Regions from separate parts of the Homo sapiens genome. Here region 1 is linked to region 2. Evidence: promoter capture Hi-C in human tissues and cell types (Jung and others, 2019). All regions are on one chromosome and are shown on one strand. Each heading gives the region's core, a stretch centred on a gene start or on the middle of the fragment in contact. The rest is flanking DNA. Distances are from core to core; before and after follow the strand shown.

The links. Contacts are between HindIII fragments. The study calls those that stand out against the background at their distance.
Region 1: a fragment that was not itself captured here is called in contact with the fragment with the promoter of NKX2-5 in region 2 in 2 of the 25 tissues and cell types used here (IMR-90 fibroblasts and mesendoderm cells).

Annotation. Positions count from the first base shown.
Region 1 is chr5:173,179,472-173,184,485 of GRCh38, reverse strand. No RefSeq gene overlaps it. Among named protein-coding and RNA genes, the nearest start is that of BNIP1, 37 kb to the right of the region's middle. The HindIII fragment of the contact is 6,526 bases long and covers 1-5,014 here.
Region 2 is chr5:173,233,805-173,238,510 of GRCh38, reverse strand. NKX2-5 (NK2 homeobox 5) reads left to right here and starts at 3,305. Exons shown (of 2, transcript NM_004387.4): 1 at 3,305-3,761. The coding sequence starts at 3,428. RefSeq lists an enhancer at 4,626-4,706. The HindIII fragment of the contact is 11,596 bases long and covers 299-4,706 here.

The sequences.
Region 1 (5,014 bases), core at 1,224-3,723, 53 kb after region 2:
TTTTTTGTTTGCTTGTTTTTGTTTGTTTGGTTGGTTTTTTTTGGTTTTTGGTGTTTTTTTTTTGAGACAGAGTCTCGCTCTGTCACCCAGGCTGGAGTGCAGTGGCACGATCTCAGCTCACTGCAACCTCTGCCTCCCGGGTTCAGCTGATTCTCCTGCCTCAGCCTCCCGAGTAGCTGGGATTACAGGCGCCCGCACCACACCCGGCTTATTTTTTTTGTATTTGTAGTAGAGATGGGGTTTCACCATGTTGGTCAGGCTGGTCTAGAACTCCTGACCTCAGGTGATCCACCCGCCTCAGCCTCCCAAAGTGCTGGGATTACAAGCATAAGCCACTGTGCCTGGACTGTTTTTTGTTAATTAATGGCTAACACATAAAAATCAAGTGAATTACCCCCCAAAATTCAAGTATCTGGCTTTTCTAGAAAAATCTGAAAATGTGATGTCACTGGGCCCATGTCTCTGCTTGGCCTGAGGACATCTGTGTTGTGCCCTCGCCTCGGGCAGGGAGGCCACTGGAGAATTCTCAAGGAGGCCATGGCATGTGCCTCTGAAAGAGAGGGGCTGACGCAGGGCACCAACTTGAATGAGGAAAGTCCGGCTGCATTGGGCCCAGTCAGAAGCTGCCAGAATGACCCAAGCAAGGCACAGGGAGGCCCAAGGTAGGCAGAGGCCAAATGTACAAATGGGAGCCTTGGACATGACCCCCAGAAGAGAGAAAGATGAAGGAGACATGAAGAGGCTGAGTTTCTTTTGGGGAGCCCTAGGGGCCAGTAGCAAGAGTAGGAGAAGCTTCCACGTGGTCACTTGGTTGCAACCAAAATGGGGAATGCAGGTGGCAGAACTCACCTGGGGTTGGTAAAGGTTTTAACATCCAATTTCTTTTTTTTTTCTTTTTTTTTTTCTTTTTTTTTTTTTTTGAGACAGAGAGTCTCACTCTGTCACCCAGGCTGGAGTGCAGTGGCAGGATGTCGGCTCACTGCAACCTCCACCTCCCGGGCTCAAGCAATTCTCCTGCCTTAGCCTCCCAAGTAGCTGGGATTGCAGGCGCCGCAACCACGCCTGGCTAATTTTTGTAATTTTAGTAGAGATGGGGTTTCACCATATTGGTTGGGATGGTCTCAAACTCCTGACCTCAGGTGATCCAGCCGCCTTGGTCTCTCAAAGTGCTGGGATTACAGGCGTGACCCACCACGCCCGGCCAACATTCAGTTTCTTTATTCTTGATCACTGGCCTGACTCACGTAGGCATCCTTCACTTATCTACTATGCTCAGGCAGACCTGGTCTGGGTCAGTGCCTGCAGTTAAGCTGAGGAACAGGCTTGATGTCAAGGAGGGCCGAATCCAGCCAGGCACAGTGGCTCACACTTATAATCTCAACACTTTGGGAGGCCGAGGCTGGAGGATCCTTTGAGCCCAGGAGTTGGAGACCAGCCTAGGCAACATAGTGGGACTCTGTCTCTACAAAAAATTTAAAAATTAGCCAGGTATGGTGGTGGCATGCACCTGTAGTTCCAGCTACTCAGTAGACTGAGGTGGGAGGATCGCTTGAACCTAGAAGGTTGAGGCTGCAGTGAGCCATGATGGCACCACTGTGGGTGACAGAGCAAGATCCTGTCTCAAAAATAAATACATAAAAATTAAAAAGAAGGGCCAAATTCCAGATTTGGGGGCAATTTTTATTCCAGCTCTGGATTTTGAGCAATATTTATACCAGTTCACAGTCTATCAAAATGATGGTGGTAAAAGTAAGCCACAAAGGCCAATGCCTGGGCCCACTGCAGGAAGAGCTCCGGACAGACATGTTTATACTTTTGACCATACTGATGTGGAGGTCTCCTCTCTGGAAGCCTAACTGGGGGGATGGCTGGCCTGCCAGTTTCATCTCTCTTAATCTCTCCCTCTTCCAATAAGGCACACAGGGGTTATAGTACTAAGGACCCATTGGGTTGTAAGTGACAGAAACCCAAGTAAAAGAAATTAGTTTTTGGCTGACCTAAATAGGAAGACCAGAGATTTGATGGGTTTCAGGCATGGCTGGATCCAGAGGCTCAAATTATGTGAATAGGATGCTATCTCTCTGCCTCTCAGCTCGGCTCTCCTCTTAGACAGGCTCCCTTAAAGATGGTATCACCGTAGCTCCAGGATCCCTTCCTGGCAGCTTGGTGACCCTAGAGAAAGAGAATGCTGTTTTCCTCGGAATTCATGAGACAACCCAGGACTGATGCTCAGTTGCCTAGTTTGGTTATGTGAGCCAATCACTCTGACCCTGACCATCCAGGTCACCTCTTCAACCCTGGCATCAGGGGTTGTGTCAGCTCTGTCCCCATGTGGACTGAGTTGGGGAGTGATGGTTTCTCAAAAGAAAACTAGATGTTGATCCCAGATGAAAGGGAATGGGTGCTGGGCAGACAGATACAGTAGATGCCCACTGCAGGGCATTGGTCCCTCAACCCCTGGCTTCTGTACCCTGTGGGGAAAAGTAAGGGTCCTTCTCCCAGGCCATCCCTACCAGAACCAAATAATCTCATCTCTGCTTATCTAGGCCCACTTCCCTAAAGAAAGGAGGGAAGTACTTCTGATTAATCAGGGGGATCCACCTCAAACCCTGCCTCACACCTATTTTACCAGTTATGTCACTGCTACAAAATGGGGGAAGAAAGCAATTCCAAATGTACTAAAATATGCACAAGAAAAAATATTAACTTTGTGAGTGGCGTCTTTCAAGCCAGATGGAATTGGAAGTGTTTGTAGTTGCAGGGTTGATAAAATTCTGGATCATTAACATGATCTGCTCAACATTATCTCTGCTGTCCCCTTTCCAGGTTTTTGGTTTAGAAAATGGTAAATAATTTGGGTTCGGTTGTTGCATTTATCTGCCACATTCCTTATAGGTCCCGGGATCATACAACCACATTTGTTCCAGAGAGTAGCAGACGGCAGTGCCCGCACTTGCCGTCTAGGAGTGTTTGAAGTCAACATGATGCTGTGTAACGTGAGCGGCAAGGCTGAAAGATGGATGTAAACTTTATCACAGGAGCTTTCCTTCCTGTGTAAATCTATTCTCCAGAAGGAAAATGTTTGCAATCTCTTTCCTGACCCAGCGTGTCCTCTGGGGTGAATCAGTGCTCTAGGTAGGAAGAAGCTGGAGGCTCTGGAAAATGCTTCTCTGCCTGGGAAAGACTTAATGTTTGAGGTTCCGAACCTCAGGGTGGCTTGCCTGACTCTAATTCACTCTATTTCCCTTCTTCTCTCTTGCTTGACACAGTGAACTCCAGAAGTAAAGAATGGACCACTTCTTAACAATGTACACTACTCAGGTAAGGAGAGCACTAAAAGCCCAGATTTCACCATTACACAATATATCCATGTAACACAACTGCCCTTGTACCCCTAAATCCATAAAAATAAAAAATTACCTAAAAAAAAAGAATTGACCATTTTTATCTTCTAATGTGGCTACAAAAGAAAAAGGAAAGAATTTACCACTCTAAAACCTACAAACAACCTAAATGCCCAGCTGTGGGGAGGAGAGGGGGTCAACCCAAATACACTCCACCCATCAGGTTCCTTCACCTATTCTGTAAATATTGAGCACCTGTTGTGTGCCAGCGATTATCTCTGGGTATAGTGGTTTTCAGGCCATTTTTTTCCTTCTTCAGAATTTTTTCAGTTTTCCAAATTTTCTAAAATGAGCAAGTATCACTTTTATTATCAGAAAAAAAAACCTGATGTTCATTCAGTAAGGACAAAACCAACCAAAGAAACTGACTTTCTGAGAGTGGTATAGCAGCATGCTCCAGCTATCTAGTGCTGCCTAACAAATCACCCCAAACTTAGTGGCATCAAGGAACAACATCCATTCATCACAATTCTCTCTCCCACTTCTGGGGATTGGCTGGGCTCAGCAGGGTGCCTCTTCCTTGAGGTCTTTCCTGTGGTTGTAGTCAGATGGTAGCTGGTGCTGGAGTCAATGAGGAGCTTGCTCATGTGTCTGGCATTTGATGCTGGCTGCTGACTGGGAGCTCAGCCAAGCTACAACACCAGTAAGTGGTCTCCCCATGTGGCCCAGGCTTCCTTCCTCACAGCGTCGGTGGCTGGGTTCCAGGGGTGAGTGTCCCAAGAAAGAGAACCAGGGGGATTCTATATTGCCTTCTCTCCTGGTCCCAGATATCACACAGCATCACCTCCACCACAGCCTATTATTAGAAACAAGTCAACCATATTCAAGGTGAGAAAACTTAGACTCCACCTTTTGAGTGGACTGCTAATAAACTTGCAGACATCTTTTAAAAGGACTGCACAGTGCTTTCCTGAACCAAAGTTCCCAAGCACCCCAGTGGCACTCTAACACCAACCAGTCATCCTACCCATTGGCCCCTCAGTCCCCGTTTTCTGCATCTTCTCAGCACTGAACTCCACCTTAGACCCTCTGCTCTCAGCAGAAGACCTTGTCTCCTCATAAAAGGGAAGCCAAGACAGCAGATCTCCCCGACAGATGCCCTTGGTGCTGAACTTGAACCTCGTTTCCATGTTGAATCCTCCATTGAGTCGAGACACCTTGCCTCCTCCATGACCTCGCCCAACCTGTTCTCATCCTTCCTCTTCCCTTCCCTCACATTCTTGGAATGTGCTAGGTTTCTTCCTCTTAAGTAAACCCATCCCTTAAGCCTGGGGTAGGGAGATCACTCAGAAGGAGTCTGTAATAAGCCAGCCAAGGTCAGCAGGAAGCAAAAAGGAAGGGGAAGGCCAAAAGTAAACTCATTTTTGAAGTAGAAAGGTCATCCTCCAGAGGTGATGATATCGGAAATAAGGAGGTTTGAACACGACTTTGAGGTTCCAGCTTCTGTGTCCCATGAATCCTTGCCTGGGATCTTTCTTACTAGGTTTGGGAGACAGCTCCCTCTGTCCCCTTAATGGCCATGTATCCTGTTGGGAAGAGGCTGAGGAGAAGCTGCTTCTAGACATCCACAGAGATAGCAGGGCAGGAATGGAGGCCTGGGTCTGTGAGTC
Region 2 (4,706 bases), core at 2,056-4,555:
GATAAAGCCGCGGATAACGCCGCCTGTCTCCAATGGACGTCTCCCCAGCGCATTAATGACATTCCCGGTGATAGTTCCAGCTTATCTTTCAATTAATCATATATACCTTTTGCGACCAGCCCTGCTGATTGCACGAAAGGGGGGCCGGCTCCGGCTGCGCCGATCGCTTTTCAATTAATAATAATTTATTCACGGAGAATGCGCTCGAGCCACCCTGGAATTTGGATTATCTTAAAGCACCAACTCTTTAAAAGTCAAGGAAATACACAGATAGATTTTCGATCTCTTCTCTCTCCTTTTGTCTCTCTCTGCCTTTCTCTAGGCTGAAGGCTGTTTGTTTGTCCTGCTAGTTTGGTCAAAGTGCGGCGCAGAGAGGCGGCCAGGTTGGGTCAGCGGCCCTTGGGAAAAAAAGATGTGTCCCTGTTGGGGGCCAGAGAATCAAGTTTCCTCCCACCCAACCCCCAACTATTGCAATTTCTATTTAGATCTATTTAGAGGGATTTTTTTTTAACTCACTCGGAAACAGTGAGGACTGGAAAGAAAAGCTGCAAATGGCTCTCGGACTTTCCTCTAAGGAGACCAGCATGGGTCGCCCCAATTTCTATTTTGCACGTATTTGTCCGTTTTTGCCCCATCTCCTCTCTCCTGCAACACCAAGACCTTTTTGGAAGCCAAGAGAAATCATTACCCGATTCACAAAGAGCATAGAGAGTGTAACAGTCACTGATCTTGTTCAAATAGGGAGAGTTTTTTTTCCTTCCCTTTTTGTAACACCTGACCCACAGGACTGACAGTTCTAGGAAGCCCCCTTACCCGAAAATAGGAAATAAATCCTTGCCACCTTGATTTGCAAGGGCAATGCTAATTTTTTTCTTTCTCCAGAGCTCTCAAAAAAAAAAAAAAAAAAACCTTACTAAAAACAGGGATCCCGGATGTAGCCTCGATGTCCCCCATTAAACGGTAATATTTCAGGCGTCCGCTCACACTAATCTTTCAAACTGTCATCGCGAGCCGCCTGGCCAGCAGATTCACTTAACAGCGCTCCCAGGACCCTCGTTCCGAGCTCTTTTCAGCGAGACATTTAATTGAATCGGATGTGGCTCGTTTGCCAGACGTCACCGCCTCGGCGATAGGCATCCTCTCCAACGACACCCCCCCCCGCCCGCGCTCGAAAACAATCTTCAAAGGCAAGGCGGGCCCCCAAGCTAGGTTAATTTACAGCCATAACGGTAACGTGGCCAAAAGTCCAGGCGAGGAAGGGCCGCAAGGCCGCTGACATGCAGCTCCGTCCAAGGAGAATTTGGGTTGGGAGGTGAAGAGGTGGGGGGACGAGGTTTCCTGGGCCTTGAACGCCCCACATTTAAGAAAAGGCATCCTCCACAGACTAGACTAACAATTCCAGACCCCCAGTAGTCCCTGGCTCAGAAACTCGAGGCGTGATTTCGGCGTGGCAGCCCAGGCCTGTTACTGACGGCTGGCGCCTAGAAGCCGGGGTCAGGGCGTTGCGCGCCTCCTGGGCTGCCCTGCGGGGCTCACCTCTCTCCCCAGCATGGAGGCCCCAGGTCCTGGGAGTGTGGCTTTGATGAGGGACAGGAAAAGTCCCAACATCAGGCCAATGCTTGACTTCACTTGCGTCGGCGTCTCAGACGGCACACTGTCGGGTTTGAGCACCCAAGATGTACGTTCTGGACAGACACTATTTTGTCCCCATACATGGAGCGTTTCCTCCGCACCTTGGGCGCGCCTGCGGGAGCTGTGTCTTTAGGTAGTTTTTGGCCCTGCGCCGCCTTTATTCTACTCCAAGCGCCTCTTGCCAACCCGCACTCCGCAAAGAGCCAAGCCCTCCACATCCCCATTCTCAGCAAGTCCACGCGTCCCGCCCAGCTTCCCGCCCGCGGTTCCCTGTACCAGCTAGGGCCGTGAGAAGCCAACGCTTTTCCACTGACAAATCCTGTCATCCCCAGCTCTAGAAGGCGTCCTTAACCTGGGCCCGCTCTGCCTGCCCGGACTCCTGAATTGTAAGCAAAATAAAACTCCTCTCTGCAGTGTTCTGGGGAATGGAGAAGACCCCAAGCTTTCATCAGACCTCCCAAGGAGTGCGGGGACCCAGAGAAATGAGGCCACCCGGGCAGGATCTGGCCATGTAGCTGGCGCTCCTGAAACTCTGGCAGATTTGTCTGACTTCTGTGCCCTACTCTACTGACCCTGGGCTAAAAATGATCATGATCACCCCACTTGCCCTGCCCTTCCCCCACGCGCCTGACCGAGCCGCAGGGGTGCCCCACTGGAAGTCCGGCCCAGAGGCCTCAGAGAAATCCTGGCCTAGCTGGGCTCAGAGGAGCCCCGCCTCCCTGAGAGCTAAACCTGGGCTAGGACCCTGAAACCTCGAGGTTGGCAGAAGCCTGAGGGCCTTGCTGCCAGGCAGGGAGGGCACGGGAAGGAGGGAGGTGGGATCGATGGCCTCCAAACAGGGGAAACAAGGTGGCTGGTAGCTGGGGCACTCCACAAGACAGGTGTCTCCTGGGAAGCTGAGCTTACCAGCTGGGATTCCTGATTTATTTCATTATTAAGGGGAGAGGCATTTCCCTGGGAGGGTACTGGCAGTGACTGATGCCCCCTGGAGTTGTGCTGTGCATAACACTACTGTAGGAGGCAGCAACTCCTACCCCACCTGGCCATCACTCACCTTGCCCTTACTTTCGTTGACTCGCCCAGAAGCACCCAGAGCCTGCGGCATGACTGACCCTGTAGGCCAAGCCAAACCAAACCCCCGAATTGTCCAGAATCTCGCCCTGCTGCTATCCCCAAAGCCAGCCCTGTCCTCCAGGCTTCTCTTCCTATTCAGACTCTCCCTCATCCCACCACCTTCAGTAATAAAGCCTTCCTCAAATCACTCTCCTCCCCACCGCTTCCCACCCCATCCTTCTCTCTCCCATGCTGGTTTGGGTGCTGAGGAATATTTCTTCAAACCCACACCCATCCAGCCCTGCCCAGAGGCCTGACTCTGCATGCCTCTGGTAGGCTTTTCAGGCTCACATTAGGGAGCAAACGCAGGCTGCAGGAGCAAAAGGAGACCCTTCCAAATGCGTCGTGGCCCCTTTAAAAAAGCTGGGCAGGGCTTTTTTTTTTTTTTTTTTTTTTTTTTTTTTTTTTTTTTTTTGCCGTATGACTATATTAGGTGACACGAAACTGCTCATCGCTCCTGTCATCGAGGCCCCTGGCCCAATGGCAGGCTGAGTCCCCCTCCTCTGGCCTGGTCCCGCCTCTCCTGCCCCTTGTGCTCAGCGCTACCTGCTGCCCGGACACATCCAGAGCTGGCCGACGGGTGCGCGGGCGGGCGGCGGCACCATGCAGGGAAGCTGCCAGGGGCCGTGGGCAGCGCCGCTTTCTGCCGCCCACCTGGCGCTGTGAGACTGGCGCTGCCACCATGTTCCCCAGCCCTGCTCTCACGCCCACGCCCTTCTCAGTCAAAGACATCCTAAACCTGGAACAGCAGCAGCGCAGCCTGGCTGCCGCCGGAGAGCTCTCTGCCCGCCTGGAGGCGACCCTGGCGCCCTCCTCCTGCATGCTGGCCGCCTTCAAGCCAGAGGCCTACGCTGGGCCCGAGGCGGCTGCGCCGGGCCTCCCAGAGCTGCGCGCAGAGCTGGGCCGCGCGCCTTCACCGGCCAAGTGTGCGTCTGCCTTTCCCGCCGCCCCCGCCTTCTATCCACGTGCCTACAGCGACCCCGACCCAGCCAAGGACCCTAGAGCCGAAAAGAAAGGTGAGGAGGAAACACAGGCCCCCTTCTCCCCTCCTGGGTCGCTTTCGTCCCCAAGAAACTCAGGGCCAGGAGGAGGAGACACGCGCCCTTGGGCCGAGGGCTGGGCTGCGGCGGGGGGTTCAGAATGTAAGATGCCTGGTGTTGTCGCCAGGCTCCCGCGCCCCGCGTCCAATCGGAGGTTCAGAGGAAATGCCGGATTGAAAGGATCAGAAGCAAGAGACCAAAAAACGTTTCCCCCCGGCCTAACAAAGCCCCGGGCGGCTTCGGCTCTGCTCCTGGGTCTGGTAGGAAGTTGAGAAATCGGTTTATGGTAGACAGAACAGAGAGACAAGCAGATAATCTCTGTTTTTAAATCTCCTTTGGATTTACGAATCTTTTTAAAGATCTGATGAGAACCGCTAAACAGAAATTGAAATGTTGCTCACCAGACAGCTTTTGCGTACAATCGGAGGAGGGTCCTGGACCTTCTTTCTGCAGCCCACCCACGACCCGGGTTTCTGGTGCCTTTCTTTCTTTGCGCCAGGAAAGTGGAGTCTGGGATCGAGGGCCTTGATTTTAAAATGGGATACTGCGGACCCTCAGGAATCTGACTTCACTTTATTTTTTCAGCACAACTTGCCGGCGCGGCCAGGGCGGAGAGGTTCCCTCGTGGAAAAGTTAGGAAATGCTGCGCTACCGCGGGCACAAGGGAGTGGACGAGATGAGTGCGGGATCATCCCGCAGGCCATCCCAGGATCGGGGAGGGAGGCCGGCCCCGCTGCAGAAAGGGGCCTTCTGGGAGACCCCCCAGCCCAAGGCAGGAGCCCGGGCGATTCCCGGGAGGCCGCAGGCGCTGGGCGAAGCGCTGGGCGAAGGGCCGCTGCCAGCCGGGAGAGAATTCATAGGTTTGTTGAGGAGCAGAGGCCTGGGAACAAATTCGGGCGGGCACGGCGGCTAGAACTGATC